Regions from separate parts of the Homo sapiens genome. Here region 1 is linked to region 2. Evidence: promoter capture Hi-C in 16 types of primary human blood cells and fetal thymus (Javierre and others, 2016). All regions are on one chromosome and are shown on one strand. Each heading gives the region's core, a stretch centred on a gene start or on the middle of the fragment in contact. The rest is flanking DNA. Distances are from core to core; before and after follow the strand shown.

Region 1 (5,291 bases), core at 717-3,216, 2.4 Mb after region 2:
CTTGAGCCCAGGAGTTCAAGACCAGTCTGGACAAAATGGAGAGATCCTATCTCTACAAAAAAATTAAAAAATAAAGCTAATTGTGATGGGATGCACACCTTTTGCTAGGTAAAATAATTCACCTATACATACTGCACCCTCTCCCAGAAGGACGTTTGAAACATCTCTGCCTTCTAGCAAAATACAGATATTTTTAAGGTGGTGCCTCCAAGTCTCCCGGTCTTCTCTGAGACTTCACTCTCCCAGCAATGCCCACCTTATCTATTTTAAAGCCTTTTTTTTTTTTTTTTTTCTCGGAGACAGATCCTTGCTGTCTTGCCTAGGCTGGAGTGCAGTGGCGCAATCTCAGCTCACTGCAACCTCTGCCTCCCGAGTTCAAGCAATTCTCCCTGCCTCAGCCTCTCGAGTAGCTGGGATTACAGGCACCCACCATCACACCCAGCTATTTTTATATTTTTTAGTAGAGACAGGGTTTCGCCATGTTAGCCAGGCTGGTCTTGAACTCCTAAACTCAGGCAATCTGCCCACCTCGGCCTACCAAAGTACTGGGATTAGAGGTAATGAGCCCCCAAGCCCGGCCTATTTTAAAGCCTTTTAATGTCCAGTTTCCCTTTGAGCCTTGTGTTCATACCACCTTCATACCTAATTGGTTCAGAATTCAGACAGGGAACAGTGACATTTATAAATGGGCTGCCCTTCAAACAACAATCTATTAACCATAATAAGATCCCCCTTCCCAAGCCCCATCTGTAAAGAAACACAGATATGACATATTTCATATCTGTCTGACCTGACTTGTAAGACCTCAGCTTGTCTCCTAAGAAAATTCTTTCCTTCCTCCAGCTCAATTAACAACCTTTCCTTAGTTTTCCTTTCACTTCCCAAGTATTTCCATTCTCAAGTCAAACCCAAAGCCTCATTTTTAAACCATCCTATTTCTCCTTCAGTTTCAAGACAAACCTGATTCTTCCATTTCCTTTCATTTCCTTCTAAATTTTAGAGTAATTCAAATGAATTTATTCTCGGCAGGGCATCGTGGCTCATGCCTGTAATCCCAACACTTTGGGAGGCTGAGGAGAAAAGATTGCTTGAAGCCAGGAGTTCAAGACCAGCCTGGGCATCATAGCAAGACGTTGTCTATACAAAAAATAAAAAAATTAGGCATGGTGGCACGCATCTGTAGTCCTAGCTACTTGAGAGGCTGAGGTAGGAGAATCACTTAAGCCCAGGAGTTTGAGGCTGCAGTAAGCTATGATGGCACCACTGTACTCCAGCCTGGGCAACAGAGCAAGACTCTGCCTCTTAAAAAATTTTTTTAATTTTAAAAAATTTACTCTCATCGTCAGCATAAAAAGATGAGGTAACCCCTATACTTCAATGACCTTCAGTGACCCTTGAGTTTATAACATTTGACACAAAACAATTGTAAAATGCGATGGTAACAGTAATTAAAGGAAATATGTGGGTTGTATGAGACCCGGCATCTCAAGAGGTAGTTTTGATCCACAAATCAGTTTGTGCATATTTTTTTCCTCTAGAATTGATGGATCGCTTAAGCATATTTATACTGTCCTTCCTCAAAGGAAAGATCAGTATCTTCCTTCTTTTTTATTCCCAGCTTTAAGCATAATATCCTACATGTAGAAAAGGCTCTGTGGAGTCAAGCACAGTGGCTCATGCCTGTAATCCCAGCACTCTGGGAGGCTGAGGCAGGTGAATCACTTGAGTTCAGGAGTTCAAGACCAGCCTGGCCAACATGGCAAAACCTTGTCTCTACTAAAAATACAAAAATTAGCCAGGTATGGTGGCAGGCACCTGTAATCCCAGCTACTTGGGAGGCTGAGAGAGGAGAATTGCTTGAACCCAGAAGGCAGAGGTTGCAGTCAGCCGAGGCCGTGCCACTCTACTCCAGACTGGGTGACAGACTGAGACTCCATCTCAAAAAAAAAAAAAAAAAAAAAAAAATGCTCTGTGGACCAGGCATGGTGGCTCACAGCAAGATTACAGGTGTGAGCCACCACGCCCAGCCCACAGCACTTTGGGAGGCTGAGGTAGGAGGATCGCTTGAGTACAGAAGGTTGAGGCTGCAGTGAGCTAAGATGGTGCCACTGTGTTTCAGCCTGGGTGACAGAGCAAGGCCCTGTCTCAAAAAAAAAATAAAAAGGAAATAAGAAAGGGCTCCGTGACTTGGGAAGCACTCCTATGCCTCCTAACAACAACTAAAATCTGAGTCCTATATTCTGTTGTGACCAATTTTCCCTGCACTTGTCTCTGAGCCAAGAGAGCAGGGTCTGGTTTCTGCCTAGGCAGTAAGTGGTTGCATAACTCTGGAGGGTGCTTTCACCTCAGCAGGGCTTGCTTGCCTCAGTTATGAAATGAGTGGATGGAACTTGAACTATCTCCAACATCTCTTCCAGCTCTGTGTTGCCATAAGAATTACTCTTCCATCTTTTAAAGAAGTGGGTGTTATGTTTGGTTTTGTTTTAACAGAATCTCGCTCTGTCACCAGGCTAGAGTGCAGTGGCGAGATCTCAGCTCATTGCAACCTCTGCCTCCCGGGTTCAAGTGATTCTCCTGCCTCAGCATCCCGAGTAGCTGGGACTACAGACGTGCTGCACCAGGCCCAGCTAATTTTTGTATTTTCAGTAGAGACAGGGTTTCACCATGTTGGCCAGGCTAGTCTCTAACTCCTGACCTCAAGTGATCCACCTGTCTCGGCCTCCCAAACTGCTAGGGTTATAGGCATGAGCCACCATACCAGGCCAGAAGTGTGCATTTTGACAGTTAAGATGTTATACCTGTGGGAAGAATATAAGTCATTGTGGAACACACATAGAAGAACTAACTTGATTGTTCACGTAGAGCAGTTAGCAGAGCTTCAAAAAGTACATATGTCATTAGACAGGGAAATACTGAGTTTAAAGTAGGAAAAAGTGGTACATGAATCTACCCTTCAGTAGAATCGTCAGCAGGCAGCAGGCAGCCTGAGGCGCCCAGTGCTTCAGAAGGCTTATCCACAGAGGCAGAGGCTCTCAGGGGAAGGTAGCATGGAGACCTGGGCCATCCTCATGCTTGGCACAAGTCTACCAAGGGGCAGCCTTAGTTCTGCAAAGAAGAGGGAGTCGAACTGATTATTTACCTCTGACATGACCCAGGAAGCTAGCATTTGCAGATTCCCTTCCTTTTTTTTTTTAGATAGGTCAATAATTCTTTCATAACTGCTTTTCTGTCTTGGGTTCCTGCACTTTATTGGATCTGACTGTTGCCTTTAATAATTCAGCCCACAGTGGCATCCTCACACAGCTGGGTTCTCTCTAAGTGTTCTATAAATGGACATACTAATATCTATGGGGCTTCTCACAGCACATCTGCTTCCTTGGACTTTCAAACACCCCACCTTGGTGAGAATGCCCTCTCTTCCAATAAAGGACTAGGTGTCACGGCATTTCAAAATACAAGTCCTGGACACACACAGCACACTGTTGGTTCAGGATATCAAAGGGGCTACTGGGGAGAAAAGCTATTAGGGACAGCTGGCGGGCCTGATTCTATAAAACAGCAGGGTTAATGGCACATTTATCCAACAGCTAAGATCAGGAATTAAACCTTAATACTCTATAAGAAAAGCAAACAGAAACTCGATCAGGCTTAAAGAAAAATTGTGTATCACTGAGAAGTGAAAAATAAATCAATTCTTCAATCACATTCACAAAGTTTCCCAGGGAGAAACTCAGTGTTTTTTTGTTTTTGTGTTTTTGTTTTTGTTTTTTTAATCTATAGGCCCAAATTCTACTCACTGTACTCACCATGCACAAACACACAGACATGGACACATTCACGTACACAGAGCTACAAAATATTTAAATCCCACCAATTTCATTTACATACTTAATTATACCAATCAACATTTTAGTGCTGATAAATGCACAAAATTGTGTTTCAAATTTTTTTTATTCTATTTCTTCTTGCAACATTAAGCACACTGAATGGTGTTTTTGTTTTGTTTTGGTTTGGTTTTTTGAGACAGTCTCTCTCTGTCACTCAGGATGGAGTGCAGTGGAGTGATCACGGCTCACTGCAGCCTCCACCTCCTAGTGAGAGATGACAGCCTGCTGGCAGCCCTCGCTCACTCTTGGCGCCTCCTCGGCCTTGGCGCCCACTCTGGCCACGCTTGAGGAGCCCTTCAGCCCACCACTGCACTGTGGGAGCCCCTTTCTGGGCTGGCCAAGGCCGGAGCCGGCTCCCTCAGCTTGCGGGGAGGTGTGGAGGGAGAGGCGGGAGCGGGAACCGGGGCTGTGCGCGGCGCTTGCTGGCCAGCGTGAGTTCCGGGTGGGCGTGGGCTCGGTGGGCCCCGCACTTGGAGCTGCCGGCCGCCCGACCGGCCCTGGGCAGTGAGGGGCTTAGCACCTGGGCCAGCAGCTGCCGTGCTCGATTTCTCACTGGGCCTTAGCTGTCTCCCCATGGGGCAGGGCTGGGGACCTGCAGCCCACCATGCCTGAGCCTCCCCCACCATGCCGTGGGCTCCTGCGCGGCCCGAGCCTCCCCAACGAGCACTGCTCCCTGCTCCACAGAGCCCAGTCCTATCGACCACCCAAGGGCTGAGGAGTGCGGGCTAACGGCTGGGACTGGCAGGCAGCTCCACCTGCCACACTGGTGCGGGATCCACTGGGTGAAGCCAGCTGGGCTCCTGAGTCTAGTGGGGACTTGGAGAACCTTTATAAAGTCTAGCTAAGGGATTGTAAACACACCAGTCAGCACGCTGTGTCTAGCTCAGGGTTTGTAAATGCACCAATCGGCACTCTATATCTAGTTAATCTGGTGGGGACTTGGAGAATCTTTGTCTAGCTAAGGGATTGTGAATGCACCAATAGACACTCTGTATCTAGCTAATCTAGTGGAGAGGTGGAGAACTTTTGTGTCTAGGTCAGGGACTGTAAATGCACCAATCAGCACCCTGTCAAAATGGACCAATCAGCTCTCTGTAAAACACACCAATCGGCTCTCTGTAAAATGGACCAATCAGCAGGATGTGGGTGGGGCCAGATAAGGGAATAAAAGCAGGCTGTGCCAGCCAGAAGTGGCAACCCGCTGGGGTCTCCTTCTACACTTTGGAAGCTTTGTTCTTACGCTCTTTAAAATAAATCTTGCTGCTGCTCACTCATTGGGTCCACACTGCCTTTATGAGCTGTAGCACTCACCATGAAGGTCTGCAACTTCACTCCTGAAGCCAGCGAGACCACGAACCCACCAGAAGGAAGAAACTCTGAACACATCTGAACATCAGAAGGAAC
Region 2 (5,111 bases), core at 551-3,050:
TTCACAATTCCTTTTATGATAATGTTTTAACTAGGTTTGCAAATTAAATCCAAATTTTAATTTGGATGCGCAAATTAAAATCTCAAATTTCTCAGGTCAATTCCTTGGGGTTTTTTGTTGTTTGTTTGATTGTTTATTTTCGCTTTTGTTTGTTTGTTGAGAGGGAGCCTCGCTCTGTCGCTCAGGCTGGAGTGCAGTGGCATGATCTCAGCTCATTACAACCTCCACCTTCCATGTTCAAGTGATTCTCCCACCTCAGCTTCCCAAGTAGCTGGGACTACAGGCGCCTGCCACCACACCCGGCTAATTTTTGTTTTTTAGTAGAGATGGGGTTTCACCATGTTGGCCAGGCTGGTCTCGAACTCCTGACCTCAGGTGATCTGCCCACCCTGGCCTCCCAAAGTGCTGGGATTACAGGTGTGAGCCACCATGCCCTGCCTCTTTGTTTTAAATGACAAGGATTTCATTTCATATTTAAACTGCTGTAACACAAGGGACAAGGAAAAGTGAAAAGAATTTTGTTTCTCTAGAGAAAAAAAAAGGCTAGGCGGTACATTAAACTTGGATGGCAGCCTGTCATGGAACCTGGGGATTGGTCACATTGGCCAGTACTTTCTCTAACCCAGAGATCAAAACCTGATCTGCCACCACTGCTGGGAATGGAGTCAGTCCTGGTTTCAGCTATAGCTGACACCATCAGCTTCAATCTGAGCCAATCTACTTTCTGCCTTTCTTCTAGTAGACAGCGAGAGTTCAAGCCAGCCTAGTTCTCAACAGCATCATCTGCTAACATTTATCATCTCCCCCACTTCCCTCTCACACAATAAGGTAGGCACTGGGGAAGGTAGCACAGTCCCTGCCTTCAAAGTGCTTACAATCTTGGTGCTTACAATAAAAATGCCGATCAAGTGAATATGTCACTAGAAGGCAGCACATGAGAAATTAATATGAAGATGGCCGGACACAGTGGCTCATGCCTGTAATCTGAGCACTTTGAGAGAAGGTGGGTGGATCACCTGAGGTCAGGAGTTCAAGACCAGCCTGGTCAACATGGTGAAACCCCATCTGTACTAAAAAACAAACAAACAAAGAAAAAATATATACAAAAAATTAGCCAGGCATGGAGGCGGGCGCCTGTAATCCCAGCTACTTGGGAAGCTGAGGCAGGAGAATGGCTTGAACCTGGGAGGCGGGTTACAATGAGCCAAGATTGCGCCACTGCACTCCAGCCTGGGCGACAGAGTGGGACTGCATCTCAAAAAAGAAAGAAAGAAATATGAAGATGAATGTTTTGAGAGTCTGGGGAAAGTGAAGTTCACTATGAGCTGAGCTGGTGGAAATGGCTTCCTGAATGAAGGAAATCCATGGTGCCTTCTCCATTTTGTGGGAGGCACTGGTTTAGAGAGTGGTTAAGGACATAAACTGCAAAGCCAGGCTGCATTGTTTGAACAAGCTCAGCTCTGCCAGTAACGAGCTGTGTGACCAGGGCAGAGTACCTAGCCTCTCTGTGCCTAGGTCGCCTCCTCCCTAAAATTAGGACAATAGTAATTATGTCTCCCTCATAGACTTGTGGGGAGTATAAAATGCCTTAAGCTAAATGAAGCACATGGCATATAATGAAGGCTAATGGGGGCTTCGGACCATTGTTCTTTATGACACGGTTTCTTGAGACCGAGGCATGTACAAGCCAGTGCACAGAATCGTGTCTATGTAATTAGTTAATTCTGTCTGGGAGGAGTGTGTGTGTTTAAGACAGTGCCTGGGATGACTTATAATGTAATCTTTAGGCAAAACGCTTTGTAATTGGTGCAGCTCTGAGAACACACGCATGCATTCCAGGCGGTGCTGCTGGGGCTCGGCGGGGCCGTGTCTGGTCTGCAAGGCGCGCGGGCTCGTGGGGGGTTGGCTGGGGAGCCCACGCTGCCTGGCGACTCGGGCCACCGAATGTGAGACCGAGTCCCTTTATGTCACCAGCGCACACGCTGATTTGAACCCTGCTTCGACGTGTGTGTCATGGCTTAAAAATAGCTGCTAATCTGTCAACCTGTCTTGGGCAGAAACAGCGGCGGCGACAGCAGCAGGAGCGTCATGGCCGTGGCGCTGTCTGCGCCGGCGATCCGCCTTTCGGACTGAGGCCCAGCGCAGCGCTTGCAAAGAGGTAGAGGGGCTGCGGCGGGCCTTCGCCTTTTCAGCTGGCTCTCCACGCTGGGGAGAGGCGCCCAGCTAGGGGCGACGGGGGAGGGAGGGGACCGGGAAGCGGGCACCCGAGCCCAGCGAGCCAGCCTCTCTCTCCCGGGCGCCCTCCCTCCGCGCGCGGGGCCCGGCTGCCAGGCTGGCGAGGACTGGGGCGACAGCCATGGACCTGTTACAAAGGCGACCGCAGGCGGAGGGAGGGAGCGGCGGGCCAGGGCCCCTGGAGCCGACGGATGGGATTGGAGAATGCCCAGGGCTGTATCCCTGGACAGAAAGGGGCTTCTGCATCCCCCGGGAAAAACAGCCCCACGGAGATCCTTCTTAGACCTGGGCTCCTTCACGCTTCCCCCATCCCATTCATCATCTCGTAGACAGCAGACTCTCTAAGAGGAAAGGTTGTATTGCAATACAGTAATGGGGTCTTTAGGCCTGGGTGCAAAGGTAGAAGAAGATGATGGTGATAGTGATGGTGGTGATGGTGGTAGTGATGATGGTGATGGTGGTGGTGATGATGGCTGTAGTGCTATATTTCTGTGCTCCTTCCGGACCCAGCCATTGAAAACTCTCTCTCCCTAAACTCCCTAACATCCAATCTTCCCTCACCAATCCTGGTCCTAAAACCCCTGCTTCTAATGCCTTGTAAGTGCTTGGTTTCTCTTGGCACTGGAGCAAGGGAGAGCTGGGCCCTGTCTAGGGGTGTGAGATGGGGACAGAGCATGGGCAGGGACAAAGATGGCCTCTCACTGCTGGTCATAGAGTTGAAGTCCCCCTGGCAGGAGGCCAGGAAGGGAGTGGAAGGGGATTCTGCAGGCTCCAGGACCTCCTGCTTTCAAACAGGCAGGACCACAGGTGTGAGAGGATGGGGAGGGAGGGGGAAGGGGCCTTGCCATTGTTGCCTCCCTGCCTGAAGGTCCCAGGGCAAGCCTCAAACGCTGGTCCTTCCCAGCTCTGCAGCTCAACAGGTAATCTGAGACACACCTGCTAAGCCCCTCGTTATTGACCTCGTGTTTTGTAGGGTCACTTGACTCCAACAGCCATACGGTTGGTAATTCTAAGCCTCTGAGCCCCTGGACCTGGCAGGATCCCTCATTTTTCCCTTTCCTTCCTGCTTTCTAGGCCCCCACCACCCACCCCTGTCCCCCCTCCCCTCAAGACACACACAGACAAAACACTCCAACCCTGCGTCAATTCCCCCACCATCCACCTCTGTCACCCTCCCCTCAAGACACACACAGACAAAACACTCCAACCCTGCTTAGATTCAGAAATTCTCACATTAGAGCTGAGATCTGATCAGTAATTTCCTAATGCTGATCCAAGGAGGGTGGTTTGCCTGTTGTGCACATAGATTGGTGCCTTCTTCCATAAGCTCATGCATTCAGCAAGTATTTATTTTTTGCAAACTTACTCTTCCTCTTTATTGCTATTCTCCACTCACCCCATCCCACCCCCACCACACCCTTCCCATAGCAGGTTTATCTCTGAGGCAGTGGCAGGTCACGAAGGGGTTAAAGTCTAACTCTGGCACAGAGATGGCAGGCCTGACATGTGTCATGGCCTCAGCTGCTGTTGTCTCCCTGCTAATTCTCTTTGGATGGGTCTAAAGGTACCCCCAACCCCATCCCAGCTCCCTAGGCTCTCTGCCGATAGCCCCAGGCAGATGAGACTCAGATTCCAGCTGGCAAGATCCCCAGCAGTGGGGACAACCACCCAAGTGCCGTGTGTGTGTGTGTGTGTGTGTGTGTGTATGCGTGCTGGCAGTGGGGGTGGGGTGATGAAGCTGAAACCTAGCAGCTGGGCAGCTCCCTCTCCCCGTAAACAAGGACATGTGACTCTCCCACCTCGTTTCGTGGCAGAGCCAAAGAGCTGAGCAAAAGGAGCTGCTGCAGCTTGAAGAAAAAGCCACCCCTGAAGGCTCCTGCCAGAGCCAGGCTTACCTTCTCTCCCTCGAGAATCTTCTCCCGAAGGACCAGCCCAGGGAAGGGAAGCAGCTGCTCTGGACTCACTCAAGTGTGTCTCACACCCCTTCCTCTTCCAGCAGCAGCTACCTGGCAACTGAACCCATCATCACCACAGCCACTCCTGCAGCTGCCACGGTTTCTGCCACCTCTAAGATGTGCCCTGGTAACTGGCTTTGGGCTTCTATGACTTTTATGGCCCGCTTCTCCCGGAGTAGCTCAAGGTCTCCTGTTCGAACTCGAGGGACCCTGGAGGAGATGCCAACCGTTCAACATCCTTTCCTCAATGTCTTCGAGTTGGAGCGGCTCCTCTACACAGGCAAGACAGCCTGTAACCATGCCGACGAGGTCTGGCCAGGCCTCTATCTCGGAGACCAGTATGTATCGGGCAGACTGGGCCCACGGTAGAGCGTGTGTGTGTTTGTGTGTGTAAGAAAGGAGAAGGGTGGCAGACAGGTATGCAGTGGTGTCATTGGTTCCTGGTTGAAGATTGAGGGGATAGGGCACATGGGCCAAGAGTAGAGGCTGCAGGTTTGGGAGAGTTTGGCCAGGATTATTGAAATGCCCAACTCTGGCCAGTCACAGTGTCTCTTGCCTGTGATCCCAGCAGTTTGAAAGGCTGAGGCAGGAGTATCTAGAGTACAGGAGTTCTAGACCAGCCTGAGCAACAAAACCAGACCCCATCTCTACTTATTATTTTAAAATAAAATAAATAAAATAAAAATACCCAAGTCTGGACAGAAAGACTCTGTTCCAGTAATAATATCATTCATGTATCACATATTTATTATTACATGCCAGTGCTACATACCAGGCACAATAGATGACTTCTCTGACCTTCCATCTATTGTGCAATGTCTCTGGGAAAAGGCAGCCACTGGAAGCCAGGAGCAGTAGGTAGGAAGCTGCAGTGGTTTCTCTTGAGACCAAGCAAAGCGGCAGTGCCTACAGAGATTCTGC

What was found. The method cuts DNA at HindIII sites, captures the fragments that hold promoters and counts their contacts. A CHiCAGO score of 5 or more calls a contact.
Region 1: a fragment that was not itself captured here is called in contact with the fragment with the promoter of DUSP26 in region 2 in 5 of 17 cell types (activated CD4 T cells, total CD4 T cells, total CD8 T cells and 2 more); the score reaches 18.2 in activated CD4 T cells.

Annotation. Positions count from the first base shown.
Region 1 is chr8:31,243,465-31,248,755 of GRCh38, reverse strand. No RefSeq gene overlaps it. Among named protein-coding and RNA genes, the nearest start is that of WRN, 210 kb to the right of the region's middle. The HindIII fragment of the contact is 6,303 bases long and covers 1-5,117 here.
Region 2 is chr8:33,596,712-33,601,822 of GRCh38, reverse strand. It overlaps DUSP26 (dual specificity phosphatase 26), which reads left to right and starts at 1,800. Exons shown (of 4, transcript NM_024025.3): 1 at 1,800-2,158; 2 at 4,232-4,528. The coding sequence starts at 4,308. RefSeq lists an enhancer at 3,634-4,134. The HindIII fragment of the contact is 17,028 bases long and covers 1-5,111 here.